Regions from separate parts of the Homo sapiens genome. Here regions 1 and 3 are each linked to region 2. Evidence: promoter capture Hi-C in human tissues and cell types (Jung and others, 2019). All regions are on one chromosome and are shown on one strand. Each heading gives the region's core, a stretch centred on a gene start or on the middle of the fragment in contact. The rest is flanking DNA. Distances are from core to core; before and after follow the strand shown.

The links. Contacts are between HindIII fragments. The study calls those that stand out against the background at their distance.
Region 1: a contact is called between a fragment that was not itself captured here and the fragment with the promoter of KCNE3 in region 2, in 1 of the 25 tissues and cell types used here (spleen).
Region 3: a fragment that was not itself captured here is called in contact with the fragment with the promoter of KCNE3 in region 2 in 1 of the 25 tissues and cell types used here (dorsolateral prefrontal cortex).

Annotation. Positions count from the first base shown.
Region 1 is chr11:74,751,887-74,756,536 of GRCh38, forward strand. The region is part of intron 1 of RNF169 (ring finger protein 169); the gene reads left to right. Among named protein-coding and RNA genes, the nearest start is that of RNF169, 5.4 kb to the left of the region's middle. RefSeq lists enhancers at 2,864-3,443, 3,443-4,064. The HindIII fragment of the contact is 4,097 bases long and covers 786-4,650 here.
Region 2 is chr11:74,464,468-74,469,011 of GRCh38, forward strand. It overlaps KCNE3 (potassium voltage-gated channel subfamily E regulatory subunit 3), which reads right to left and starts at 3,082. Exons shown (of 3, transcript NM_005472.5): 1 at 2,931-3,082. The HindIII fragment of the contact is 14,037 bases long and covers 1-4,544 here.
Region 3 is chr11:74,161,137-74,165,981 of GRCh38, forward strand. C2CD3 (C2 domain containing 3 centriole elongation regulator) reads right to left here. Exons shown (of 33, transcript NM_001286577.2): 3 at 263-420. Among named protein-coding and RNA genes, the nearest start is that of C2CD3, 7.4 kb to the right of the region's middle. The HindIII fragment of the contact is 6,904 bases long and covers 1-4,845 here.

The DNA of each region.
Region 1 (4,650 bases), core at 1,584-4,083, 290 kb after region 2:
TAGGCAGTGCATTCACAGGATTCAAACAAAAATGTAACAAAGTATACAATGAAAAGATTCCCTTTGGCCAGGCGCGGTGGCTCACCCCTGTAATCCCAGCACTTTGGGAGGCCGAGGTGGGCGGATCACAAGGTCAAGAGATGGAGACCAGTCTGGCCAACATGGTGAAACCCCGTCTCTACTAAAAATACAAAAATTAGCTGGGCATGGTGGTGTGTGCCTGTAGTCCCAGCTACTTGGGAGACTGAGACAGGAGAATCTCTTGAACCCAGGAGGCGGAGGTTGCAGTGAGCCAAGATTGCACCGCTGCACTCTAGCCTGTTGACAGAGGGAGACTGTCTTAAAAAAAAAAAAAAAAAAAAAAAAGGGAAAAAAAAGAAGTGATTCTCTCTTACCCCCTTATTTCTCACTCCCGTCAAAGATTCTTGGGCTGGGCATGGTGGCTCATGCCTGTAAATCTGGCACTTTGGGAGGCTAAGGCGGGCGGATCACTTGAGGTCAGGAGTTCAAGACCAGCCTGGCTAACATGGTGAAACCTTGTCTCTACTAAAAATACAAAAATTAGCCAGGTGCGGTGGCACACGCCTGTAGTTCCAGCTACTGGGGAGGCTGAGGCAGGAGACTCGCTTGAACCTGGGAGGCGTAGGCTGCAGTGAGCTGACATCATGCCACTGCACTCCAGCCTGGTGGCAGAGCAAGACTCTGTCTCAAAAAAAAAAAAAAAAGATTCTTGTTTGTTCTTCCACAGTTTATGGATCTATCTACATGAAAATTCAAGTATGCTTATTTTTTGCCATTTTTATACAAAAGGTTGTACATTATACACACTGTTCTGTAACTTGCTTTTTTTTTGGTTTAAGAATACATCATCAAAGTCCACAGCAGTATGTTGTATGGAATTTTACTGAGTGGATATAGCATAATTAACCACCTATTGGTGGACATTTTGATTGTTTCCTGTCTTTTGCTATTATAAATAATTGTTTATAAAATCATTATGTAAATGCATGTGTGCATTTTTATGGAGAAGTCACCAGTAGCTTTCACCAGAATCTGAACCATTGTTTTATTTTATTTATTAATTAATTAATTTATTTTTTGAGACAGAGTCTTGCTCTGTTGCCCAGGCTGGAGTGCAATGGCATGATCTCGGTTCACCGCAACCTCCGCCTCACCGGTTCAAGCGATTCTCCTGTCTCCATCTCCCGAGTAGCTGGGATTACAGGTGTGCGCCACCACGCCCGGCTAATTTTGTATTTTTAGTAGAGACGGGGTTTCTCCATGTTGATCAGGCTGGTCTCAAACTCCTGATCTCAGGTGATCCACCCACCTCGGCCTCCCAAAGTGCTGGGATTACAGGCGGTGAGCCACCGCGCCCAGCCTTGAACCATTGTTTTAATCTATGTCTCTCATTCTACAGAAGAGAAAACTGAGGCCCAGAACAGATAAGAGAGTAAGAGTTTACATGAGTTGATAGTAGATGAAAAAGGGTCAACAGAAACAGCCTAATTCACAGTGAAATGTTCATAATAGCTTTAATAAGGAAAACTAATAATACCAGTTTTATAAATATTTACATTGTGCTTTTATGAGTGGAAACAGCAACAGGATTACTAGGTTGGCACAAAAGTAATTATGGTTTTTGCCATAACTTTCAATGGCAAAAACAGCAATTACTTTTGTACCAGCCTAATAGCAATTTTAGTAATATTCAGAGATATATTGCTTAGTTGTATTCTCATCACATAGTTGGATCAATTGATAAAGGAAACATCAGGCCTGCTGGAAATGAAATTTTGTAGTAAATGCACTGGTATTTAAGTGACGTTCTTAATTTTTTTTTTATTTTGTTGAAGTCCAGTGCCTCTTTAGGAATTGCTTTGTGGAAAAAGTGTAAAGAGTTTGTGTTTTCTTGAAAATTTTGGTTGCACTGGTGACATTTTTGTTCTTTGCCTGCTTTTTTGGCAAGCTTTAAGGTTCAGAACCTTAATGACCCCTGTGTACATGTTTTATTTAATTCTTTTATGCATTCACGGTTTGCTTTTGGATATAGTATCAGTTTTTGTTGATTTGTGAAACTGTGTGTGTAAAGGCTACATCAGTGATCATTTCAAAATGAACTCAGAGTTCAACTTCATATTCTTTGAGGATCTGCAACTCGTATATATTGACATATTAAATATTTGGACCATTTTGAGCAATATTCAGGAATTATGTAATATGTGTCTACTCTGTGCCAGGTCTTTGGGAAACATTAGTGAATGAAATATTAAAGATCTCTCTCTCTCATGGAGCTTATATTCTAAATTTAGAGACATTCCTTATCTGTTGATTTAAAAAACATACTTACCATACAGGCTTACATAGGTAGATTTTGAACTATACATTGCAGCCACACTTAAGCATCATTTAAAAATGATTAATGAATTTTAAGAATTCATTTAGTCTGTTTGAAATCAAGGATGGTTATTCCAAATCATACTGCTTTTAGATTTGAAACCGAGACCTTTTTACTTTTTAGGATTCTTTTTCTTCGGCTATGGGTAATGACTGAAGAAAAGCTAGACAAAGGCTGGTGAATCTTTTAAATTGGCAGTTTAAATTTTTTTATCTTCGTGGTGTTAAAAGTGCTTTTCAGAAATTGAATAGATAGGCCAGGCGCGGTGGCTCACATCTGTAATCCCAGCACTTTGAGAAGCAGAGGTGGGCGGATCAGTTGTGGCCAGGAGTTTGAGACCAGCCTGGCCAACATGGGGAAACCCTGTCTTTACTAAAAACACAAGAATTAGCCGGACGTGGTGGTGCACGCTTATAGTCCCAGCTACCGGGAGGCTGAGGCAGGAGATTCGCTTCAACCCGGGAGGTAGAGGTTGCAGTGAGCCGAGATTGCGCCACTGCACTCCAGTCTGGGCGACAGAGCGAGACTCTCTCTGAAAAACAAATAAACAAAACACGAAAATTGAATAGATAAACAATTGAATAGTGCCTTACTTATCCCTTCTCATCCCATCTCAACTTCCCTGTTCACTTAGGGTTAACATTTCTGCATTTAAAAAATTTCCCCTTTCTGTGAAAAGCAAGTAGTTCTGGTTTATTACTCAGTTGACAGACAATGTTTGCTATGTGTGCAGCCTAAATTACATTTAGGACTAATGAATAATGAAACCATGTGATTGTAGTGCAAGAGGACAGGAATTCCCTAGTCTGTAAGGATTTGTTTAAAATATGTAAAATGACTCATTTCTTTATCCTTAATGACACATATCCGAGAATTTGAGAGTGTCCTTATGTGTTATACCAATACAGGAAACATTTGCCTTGTGCTAAGATGTTTTTTAAAGCTCTTGATGAGATTACATGCACTCTACCAACTAAACAGTAATTACTATTGAAGAATAGCTCCAATGTATGAATTCAGAATTGAACAGCAGGAATTTAGGAGGTATTTGTTTATTCATATTTTCACTCCCTGTCTTCTAGTTAATCCTGAAAGAGTTGCCTACCTTGAATTAATTTGTATCTGAGTTGGCTTGAGTATATGATGTAGGATATGTTTGTTAAATTTCATTCCACTAATTCAGTGAGCATTTTGAGGGGCACACATTGTGCAAGATGATGCAATAAAAAAAGATGAATAAGACATGGTACCTTTTCTTTAAGACTCCACAGTGTGGTTGGGGAAACACATACTCAAATAACAATACAACGTGTTAAGTGAGGTAAACAGACAATGCTAACAGAGTAGAGGAATGGGCTGACTGACAATTTGCAGGAAGCCTGAGGAAGGCATTTGAATTGTATGTTGAAGAAAGAGTAGGAATTCACCAGATGAGGAAGGAGGGGATGTCCATTCCAGGTAGAAGAGCCTGCATGTAGAAAGGCTTGAAGGTGCTTGGGATGTTCAGGGACTGGCAAAAAGCTAAATATAGGTGGAGTGTGGACTGGAGTGGGGAAGTAGAGAAGAGACTGAAGTTAGATCATGAAGGCCATTGTGTATTAGGGTAAAAGAATTTTGGACTTTATCCTATAAAGCTCTTAAAGATTTTTAAGTGGTGGAATAACATAATCATACTGTGCTTTAGAAAGACAATATATATTGGTTGGAAGAGGAAAGATGTGAGTAGAAACTGGAGGTGGGGAGTCGTTAGGGGACTGTTTTAGTAGTTCAGGCAAGCGACGAAGAGGGCCTGGACTAAAGCATTGGCTGTGGCAGTGTTAACTTCAGTCATTCATTAATTTAGTAACCATTTGAGGGTCTTCTGTGTGCTAGGTCTAGGCACTAGAGCTGCAAATAGAGGTAAAGCATGGTTCTGTCCCAAAGTGTAGTTGGGAAGATTGGGATGTAAATATGCAACTGAAATGTGGTATTATAAGTATTATAATAGCTGTTATGCAAGATATAATTGTAGAAGGCAGTATAGTATATATTAATAGAGCAGGCTAATAGAGGAAAACCTGGAGACAGACTACCTGGGTTCAAATTCTAGCTTTGCTATTTATAGCTGTATGTTATTGGATACTCTCTGTGTCTTAGTTTCTTCATTTGGAAAATGGGAATAGTAATAGTATTAAAATCATAAGGTTGTTGTTAAAGACTAAATGAATTATTACAATGCTTGGTATATGAAGAGCTAGGTCAACAAATGTAAG
Region 2 (4,544 bases), core at 1,832-4,331:
GGGAGAGGAGTTGAAGGAGTAGCCCTTAGCATCCAGTTGGAAGGACAAAGGAATAGAATCTGAGCTGGAAGAGATCTTCATGATCATGTTGTTGGTGCAACCCCCTCATTCAACCAGTGGGAAAATAGACCCTCCTCCCCAAGGGAATCACCTGCTTAAGGTCTCACAGCTCAGTAGTGGCAGAGTTGGAGCCAGAAACCAAGTATCTTGACTTCCCCTCCACAGACCTTTCCACTATAAGTTCCCTTCTGCCAGTAGGGCAGACTCTAAACTCTTCTGATTACCACTGAAGCTCCTTGAAATGTGACTCTGACACTGGCCTCATCTCCCCACAGCTCTTTTCAGTGGCCTGCACCCATGACACTGAAGTACAGGCCACTCTCCAAATATTCCTTGCACTTGCACATCTCTTGCCTTTGCTCATGCTGTTTTCTTAAACAAGAATGCCCTTCCTCTTTTTACCTGCCTGGCAAACTCCTACTCATCCTTCAAGACCCAACTCCAATTCATCTCTGCAGACCTTCTCCTGGGACTCCTCCTTCCTCACTCCCTAGCCAGTTAGTCTCTCCCTCTTGTTTTTTCCCAAAAGTGCTTTGCACGAAGGCTTATTAGAGCACTATACTGTACTGAAACTCTGTGTGTGTGTGTGTGTGTGTGTATGTGTGTGTGTGTATGTGTATGTGTGTAACTGTGCGCTTTAAGGTAAGAGGGCAGGGTCCTGTGCCTCATACATTTCTTTATTTCCCAGCCCTGATACCTAGCAGGCATTCAAGAATAAATGAATCAATGCCTCTTCTCTAAGAGCATTCCCCCGCTCTGGCACACGCACATACATTCATGAAAACAGTTTACAATATTTAAAAAGCAACCTCCAGGGCAGGGCAAAACAGATTTCATTTGGTCTGGGGAAGGGATGGCTCAAAGAAAAGAAGCCATCTCAGTCAGGTGGGGTGAGTCAGAGGAGGAAGAATTCTAAGCCTTCTTTGGAAGCCCAGATGCTCCCTGCACCTGGACCCCATTCAATCCAAAGGGCAAACATTCTTGGCCTCAAAACACCAGCAATGGCTTTGCAACCCTCTTCCCTGTGTACCTACCCAGGGTGTGGCCACATACACCCACCCACTGCACACACACACACAGTCCAACTCCCCAGTCCCTCAGCCTGTGATCTTGCCGTTCAAGTGTTCCTTTCATGATTCTAATCTTGGCTGTATGCTTGGCTCTGTGTCCTTGAGCACTGCATTTACTTCCTCTGAACCTCATCTATAAGATGGGGATAATGATCCCTGCCCTGCCTACCACACATGAGAACTAGAGGAGACAAGAGATGGGAATGTTTTAGAAATTGCAAACATACAAGATAATTATCAGGCAGGCTGGTCACACTGTTTTCCTTTTCTGTCTCCACATCTTTCCTTTCCCCCCATATTACCAAGAACAACCATCTCTGTGTCTCCTTTCCCACTCCAGGTCTCCTAGCCTCAGAAGCAGCCAGGAGGTTCTTATTATTCTTCTTGATTCCCAGGAACCTCACCTTCTCCAGAAGCCTTCCTGTTTCCTACCCTCTATGATCATTCCCGCAGTCCCTTATCATTGAGGGGTACCATTCTGTAGTCCTGTAGCTGGTGGAGAACACATCAGAGGGGGAATCAGGAGACCTGGGTTCCTGCCCCTACTAGGCCAACACGTCTAGCCGTGCGTTTTGGTTAAGTAACTTTATCACTCTAAGTCTATATCCCTCTAGGCCTCATTTTCCTCATCAGTAAGATGGAGTTTCTTGTCTTGCTTCCCTCTTAGAAGGTATTTTGAGCACTCGCACATTAAGTTTATGGATGTGCTTTGAGACGTATAGACTGAGTGAGGGATGGAGAAGGTGATGGTTATCATCTCAAGGAGTCAAGAAAATCTGAAAGCAGCTTCTAGGCCCCCAGCATGGGTCTTCCTCCATCAGGAACAGACAAAGTGGACGGATGCAAGGAAATAAGGAGGAGCTCACACGTTTACAACATGCCTTTGTAGGTGAAGTGGAGAGAGCCCTGGGCTAGGACTGAGGAAACTTGGGTTCTAATTCTGTTTGGTCTCTGTTGTAACCTTAGGTAAATCATCTCCCCTGGGGCATCAGTTTCCCTATATGCAAATTAGTGGAGAGGATTTTAGGAGGGATACTCTGGTGGGCTTTCACGCAAGAACTAAACTCATTTATTTTCGAGATAAGAGACTCTGAGGTCCAATCCCCCTTTCCCCTTCTGTCCCATGGGGTATGCAGGCAACAGGAGCAGGAGGCCCGTTTTACAAATGGTGGCCCAGGAAAAGCGAGCACAAGGCGCAGAGCTGAGGGATGACTGCCCGGGTTTACACAGCCTGTAAACTAGAACTCAAGTCTCCCGACTCCCAGCCTCGACCTATGTTACTGGCAGCAGAAGATGCTTTTGGGAGTCACCAGGTTTCCCGGGACTAGGTCAGACAGGGTGAAGGACACAGTGAGGTGTAGAGGGAATGGGCAAGTCAGCTCCGCAGAGCCGGTGGCTCCAGCCAAATGAGACTGTGCTGGGTCCTGAAATGTCGTTTCTGCGTGTGCACTGGCTGCCAGCTGCAAGTGTTCGCTTGCACGTCTGTGGGTGTGGAGGAACTTTTCTTGTGGCCGTCTTGAGGGCTGGGAATAACGGCGCAAGTCCCCACGGTTTCCAGACGGGGCGCGCAGAGCCCAGCTCCCTACTCCCACATGCTGCTCCACGATCACTGCGCTCGGGAGGATCGGGGAGGATCCGGGAGGACTAGCTTGGTATTTGCAGCGCCCACCCCTCCCCCACTCCCCCTCGGTTCCACAGTCTCACGGAGAGCGCGCCGTGGCCCTTGGAAGGGAGGCGGGAAGACCCCTCATTTCCACCCCAGGCCGCAGCTCAGCCTTCCCAGCTGGGTGGGTGCCTTACCTGCCTCTCAGCAAGGCTCCGGGGCGCCCGTTTGCTCGCTGGACACGGCGCCCTCTGACCGAGGGTGGCCCAAGCGCTGCGACCCTGTGCATTCCACCAGCCCCGTTCCACTCCGCGGGTGCCCAGCACCGCCCAGCGCGCTCTCTGGCTCTGGGCTCCCACCCGCGCTCGGCTCCCTTTTCCCTCCCCCGGGCGTCCCCTCCCCCTGCCCCGCCCGGGCCCCAGCACACCCACTTCTCCCCGGGCTGGCCTGGAGTGCCTCCGCCCAGCTCCTTGGCCTCCCCCGGCTGTGGGCTCCGACCCTTCCGTCCCCTGCAGCGCCTGCTTCCTGGACCAGAGACCGAAAGCCTCTCGCTCCGCTGGGCCTCAGCAAGCCCAGCATGAGGCCGATCTCCAGGAGTCGGTTTTGCTCCAGTGTGGCTGTGTGGTGGTGGGCGAGTCGCTGCCCCTCACTGGGCCTTGGCCTGGCTGTAAAGTTGGTACAGTTCCTCCATGCATTCTTCACAGGCTTATGGTTGAGGTCAGATGAGACCTTTGAGTCCAAAGTATTAAAACCAAAGGGTCAACAGCAAAATAATATGATTCTTACACAAACTCTTTTCCACACAGGACGCAGAGGCCCAGTTGGAGAAGGGATTTGCCCAGGTAGCAGAGCCCAGACCCAAAATCCACTACACACCCCTCTGTCTCTGAGTAGCACCAGCAAATGTTTCCTCCACCAAGCCTCAAAAGTTCGTGACAGTGCCTGACCAACTTGTGTTCAGCCGCACCTTACTCATCTCTGTCCCAGAACAGTTTATTTTCCCACCACCATGCCCTCACTCAAACTGTTGTTTCCTTGCTGGTGACATTGCAGGCTTCAGAGAACTGGGGCAGCCGGGGCAGCTGAGGAATAAGAGCCAGGAGGCTAGTGGCAGAGGAAGGGACAGTTGCAGAGAATTTCTCCGGGGGACCCTGTGGGGTGCCCTTTTACCAGCTCACTGCCTCAGAATAATTAATAACAGCCTCAGGCCAGCTCTTTCACTCCCTTGCAAAGGTCTGCTCCAGGATATCTGAAGCACATACTCTCAATTACAGAATCCCAGAATATATCTAAGAAGTGCTATCGTTTTAAAAAGACCTACTACAAGGTGGGTATATTGTATATTGTATACAATATACAAGGTGGGTATATTGTACCCACCTTGTTTTGACCCTACTATTCCTTTTTCTCAGTCTGGAGATCACCTCTCAGAAAAGTCATCCTAATCACCTAAGCATGCAATCTCAGTTTCCTTCCTTCCTTCCTTTCTTTCTTCCTTCCTTCCTTCCTTCCTTCCTTCCTTCCTTCCTTTAGACAGGATCTCACTGTGTCACCCAGGCTGGAGTGCAGTGGAGTGATTATGGCTCACAGCAGCCTTGAACTCCTGGGCTCAGGTGATCCTCCTCCCTTAACCTCCTGAGTAACTGGGACACACCACTATGTCTGGCTAATTTTTGTATTTTATAGAAATTGGGTTACTCCATGTTGCCCAGGCTGATCTCGAACTCCTGGGCTCAAGTGACCTGCACACCTCCACCTCCCAAAGTTCTGGGATTACAGGCATGAACCACTGTGCCCATCCTGCAACCTCA
Region 3 (4,845 bases), core at 1,675-4,174, 300 kb before region 2:
ATGTAAAAAAGAGTACAAGAAGAATGAATGCTGTAGGAGGTGTGAAGGACTCTCGGAACTTGAGATGGCACTAAGGCACTAAGAGGATTTGGATAAGTGGGAAACAAAAGTAGGTCTACTGGGTAAAAACATGGGCAAAGGCATGAGGTGGAAATTAGCATGATATACAGGAGCCATGGACCTATCCATTCTACAAACAGACTCAACTATTTCTGCCCAAAAAGTTTATTTTATGCAGCAAATAATTAAAATATATTTTTACCTGGAGTTCTCCAAGTTTCTTAGACGTTGATGAAACAATGGTAAAAAATCCATTGATTTGATGGGTTGGAGAAAGTTGAGCTAGTCCATTGATCTGAACTCTACCAATTGGAAGACCATCAAGTTTGGTGATTACTTCCAGCACCAGCACAGCCATATCTAACCAGAAACAATTACAACATGGATATTTTTCATTTACTTTTATTTTCTTTTTTAAGACGTGGGTAGAGGGGTATATGCGGAAAAGCTTTCTAACTTGAAAAAAAATATTTTATGTTGGATAACACCATTGCATTGGTGAAAGTGAGGGGAATTAGGTACTTTAATAAGTTGCTAATAGGATGGTTAACTGGAAAGCAATTCAGCAATAACTCAAAAAAGTACAAAAGCACATTCCTTTTTCCATGAAGTTCTACTTTTTTTTTTTTTTTTTTTTTCTTGAGACAGGGTCTCTGTCGCCCAGGCTGGAGTGCACTGGCACAATCATAGTTCACTGCAACCTCGAACTCCAGGACTCAAGTGATTCTCCCATCCTAGCCTCACAAGTAGCTGAGACTAGAGGCACACGCCACCACACTGGGGTAATTTTTTTTATTTTTGTAGAGACAAGGTCTCACTGTGTTGCCCAGGCTGGTCTCAAACTCCTGGCCTCAAGTGATCCCCTGATCTTGGCCTCCCAAAGTACTGGGATTACAAGTATGAGGCACCAAGGCTAGCCTACTCCTTAAACTTTATTTTACAAGCTGTAAATTGATCTATGTACCAGAATATTTAATAAAATGTGTTTTTTTAATAATGGCAAAATGGTGAAAAATAAAGTAATAAAAAGAATATAAGTAGCTCTATACTGATATGGAACAACATCCAAGATGAATTGCTAAGTAGAAAAAAAAGTGCTGACTGTATATGTATATAATCTGTGTAAATAAAAGAAATTATGCAAAGAGCTTTTATTAGTATAGAATTTATTTTATAAGTAAATATATTCTTGTGTAAAGATACACAAGAGACTGGTAACCTTTCATACCTTTAAAATGTTTTACCATGTGCATGTATTTCCTAATGAAAAAAGTGACACAACTGATAGAAAATACAACTGATTTAAAAACTATAACAGAGATAACAAAACTATCTGGAAAAAGTAATTTAACTTAAAAAAGTATTTTAATTTCAAATAATCACTTATCATACCATTCTGGGGGTAGAGGAGTATGAACCCAAGATCAAAAGAACAATAAAGATTCACAGAACAACAACAAATACCACACACTGAGGAAAAAATAAATCAACTGACCAAAAATATTTAGCATAGCAAGTATTTGATAAGAAAAATACCCTTAAAAGAGTATTGTTAAATGTATTTGCCAATAACTCAGGCTTTGGTTTTGACACACAGAGCAACAAATCTCAGTTTTCATTCTCACCATTTCTAGTTTTGAATTGACAAAGGATTGCCCTTGCACAGCTGCAAGGGTTGGTCCCTGCCTCCCAGGAGTATCTAATTGCATACTCTTGGGTTATATCTGGACCACTGAGCTATTGAGAGCACTTGGAACCAAGAGAAATGAAAATAAACTTCTCAACTATACTCTTTGGTCACTTAGACTAATACCTTCATGCCCAGAGGAGAAGAAATATAATGTATGCATAAGGAATCTCAGATCATTTCAGAACAGTTTAACTTCTGGTATTTTCTTAACCAAAGTTGAGAAAATGGTTCGTTTTCAGCATTTGTTAATACTGTAGTGAAAAGCATGTAGGAATTATTATTAGAAGACTTGTGATTGTGTTCTGACTGCAATATTCACAAGCTATTTCTGTATAAGCCATGGTTGTCTGTAAAGTAGGCTCATAATATTCGCATCACTGCTGTTCTGAGGAACTGGGGTTGCTGCAAGCAGAACACTAGTACAGTCCAGTGTCTTCCCACATGGTAGTTGCTGAATGGTTGGTAAATGACTTTAGGCAAATTACTTGACATATCATAGTCCCTGTGTAACAACTTGATATGGTTTGGCTGTGTCCCCATCCAAATCTCATCTTGAATTGTAATTCCCATAATCCCCATGTGTCATGGGAAGGACCGGGGGAGATAACTGAATCACAAGTGCGGTTCTCCTTATCCTGTTCTCATGATAGTGAGTTAGCTCTCACGAGATCTGATGGTTTTATAAGGGGCTTCCTGCTTTGCTGGGCACTCATTTTTCTCTCTCCTGCTGCCATGTGAAGGACGTGTTTGCTTCCCCTTCTGCCATGATTGTAAGTTTCCTGAGGCCTCCCCAGCCATGTGGAACTGTGAGTCAATTAAACATCTTTTCTTTATAAATTACCCAGTTTCAGGTATGTCTTTATAGCAGCATGAGAATGGACTAATACACCACTCATGGGGGTTATCTGAAAGTCATATGAGCAAATAGATATAAAAGTGCTTTGTAGACTATAAAATGATGTACACATGAAGAATAAGGGAAATGGACTAACATGTATTCATTGGCTATTTACTAACAGCCAGGGTCTTCCACATCTCATTAATTCTCTTAACAACTCTACGATACTGGTGTTTCTGTCTTCATTTGGGGATAAAAGAGGCTCCGCAAAGTCATGTATATTCCTAGGTTCACCCAGCTTTAAATTGACAGAACTGGGCTAAAACTCAGTTCTATCCAATTATAAGTCCACTACACTTAATTATAAGTCCACTACACTATTCATCACTTCTAGGACAAAAAGCTTAATTCTTAGTAGACTTCTGACCTTTATACTTCACTTGTTGTGGAATTAGAATCCCTACTGTCCAGCACTATTCCTACTCCGATTTGTCTTTCACATTCCTACTAACTGAATCCTATCTGATCAAAGACAGGTAAAAATCACGTAGTGTAGCCATAATTTTCTCAGTTTCTACTCTAGTAGTTCCATGCTCCAAACATTTTCATGGCTGCTATTTTCTGCAACAGAATAAAACGTAAAGGAAGAAAGATGTAAGAGTATGAGGCATATCTCAGAATCCTATAATCCTTCTATTTCCTAAGGCAGTATAATACAATAGAAGTATCAATAATTTCGGAGTCAAGTGCCTCCCTGAATTTAGGGTTGGTGCCAGGGTAACCTTGGGTTAGTTACTTTTAACTCTTTGAACCTCAAATTCGTCACTCAGAAAATCAGGATAATACCCGTTGCAAATGTACAGGGCCTCAGAGCATGCTTTCTAGTGCTCTGCAGAGGCTTCATCTTATTTCTCCTACTGTATTTTCACTTTCTGTAAACAAAAAGTTATGAAGATTTAAAATGTAAAGGTTTTCTCATTAGTTAAACAGAAATCTGTACTTAACATGTTTTTGCAATTGCCTTAACTTCTGTTTAGAATAAGGTAAAATAGATATGAAGAAAGTGGCCAGGCATGGTGGCTCACCTGTAATCCCAGCACTTTGGGAGGCCAAGGCAGGAGGATTGCTTGGGTATGGAAGTTTGACACCAGCCTGGGGAACAACAATGAGACCTCATCTCCACAAAAAATACAAAAATTAGGTGAGTGTCGTGGCATGTGCTTATATTCCCAGTTGCTCAGGAGGCTGAGGTGGGAAGATTGCTTGAACCCAGGAGGTTGAGGCTACAGTGAACTGTGTTTGCATCGCTGCACTCCAGCCCGGCTGTCTGAGAGAGACCTTTTCTCAAAAATAAAATAAAATAAAATAGATACGAAGAAATAAATAAAATGATTTTAAACATCAAATAAGATGATAGACTTGAAAGTATTTCAAAAATTGTAAAATGTGATACATTTCCTCTTCTTTTTTTATATGTTATTTTTATCTGAGGAACTCATATAATCGTTCTTACTACCTCTCTCCAGCCTAGAAAAAAAGAGCAACCCCATCTCATTTCAAATGTTAATTCTGGCACAGCCTATATATTTCACTCATTTGTAAATCTCTTCATGCAATAGTGACTTCTCCTTTTTTGACTGATACAGTATCCTAATTACAAGGTTATTTTGCACTTGTCTTAATACCTTAAGTGTAATAAAAATGGCTTGAGAAAAAAATATGGTTCATGCTAATATGTGACAACATATTAATTAGTTTACTTTTTGCATTTTGTATTAAGTGAAATATGTACACAAAAGAGTAAATAAAATAATAATAATGCGAATACCTACCACACAGCTTAAGAAATAGCATACTTTTTCCAAGTTTTTGGTTAGAGCACATACTTTTGTGAACTAATATTTGATGTCTTATCTCTTCATTTTCTGTCATTTTCTTTCTTTTTTAGAAACAGGGTCTCACTCTGTCACCCAGGCTGGAGTACAGCGGCATGAACATGGCTCACTGCAGCCTCGACTTCCTGGGCTCAAGTGATTTCTCTCACCTCAGCCTCCCAAGTAGCTGGGACTACAGGTGTGCACCACCATGCCCAGCTAATTAAAAAAATTTTTTTTTGTAGAAACAGGGTCTTGCTATGCATGTGGAATCTAATTTTTTTGTAGAAACAGGGTTTTACCCAGGCTGGTCTTGAACTCTTGGCCTCAAGTGATCTTCCTGCCTCAGCCACCAAAGTATTGGGATTACAGGCGTGAGCCAC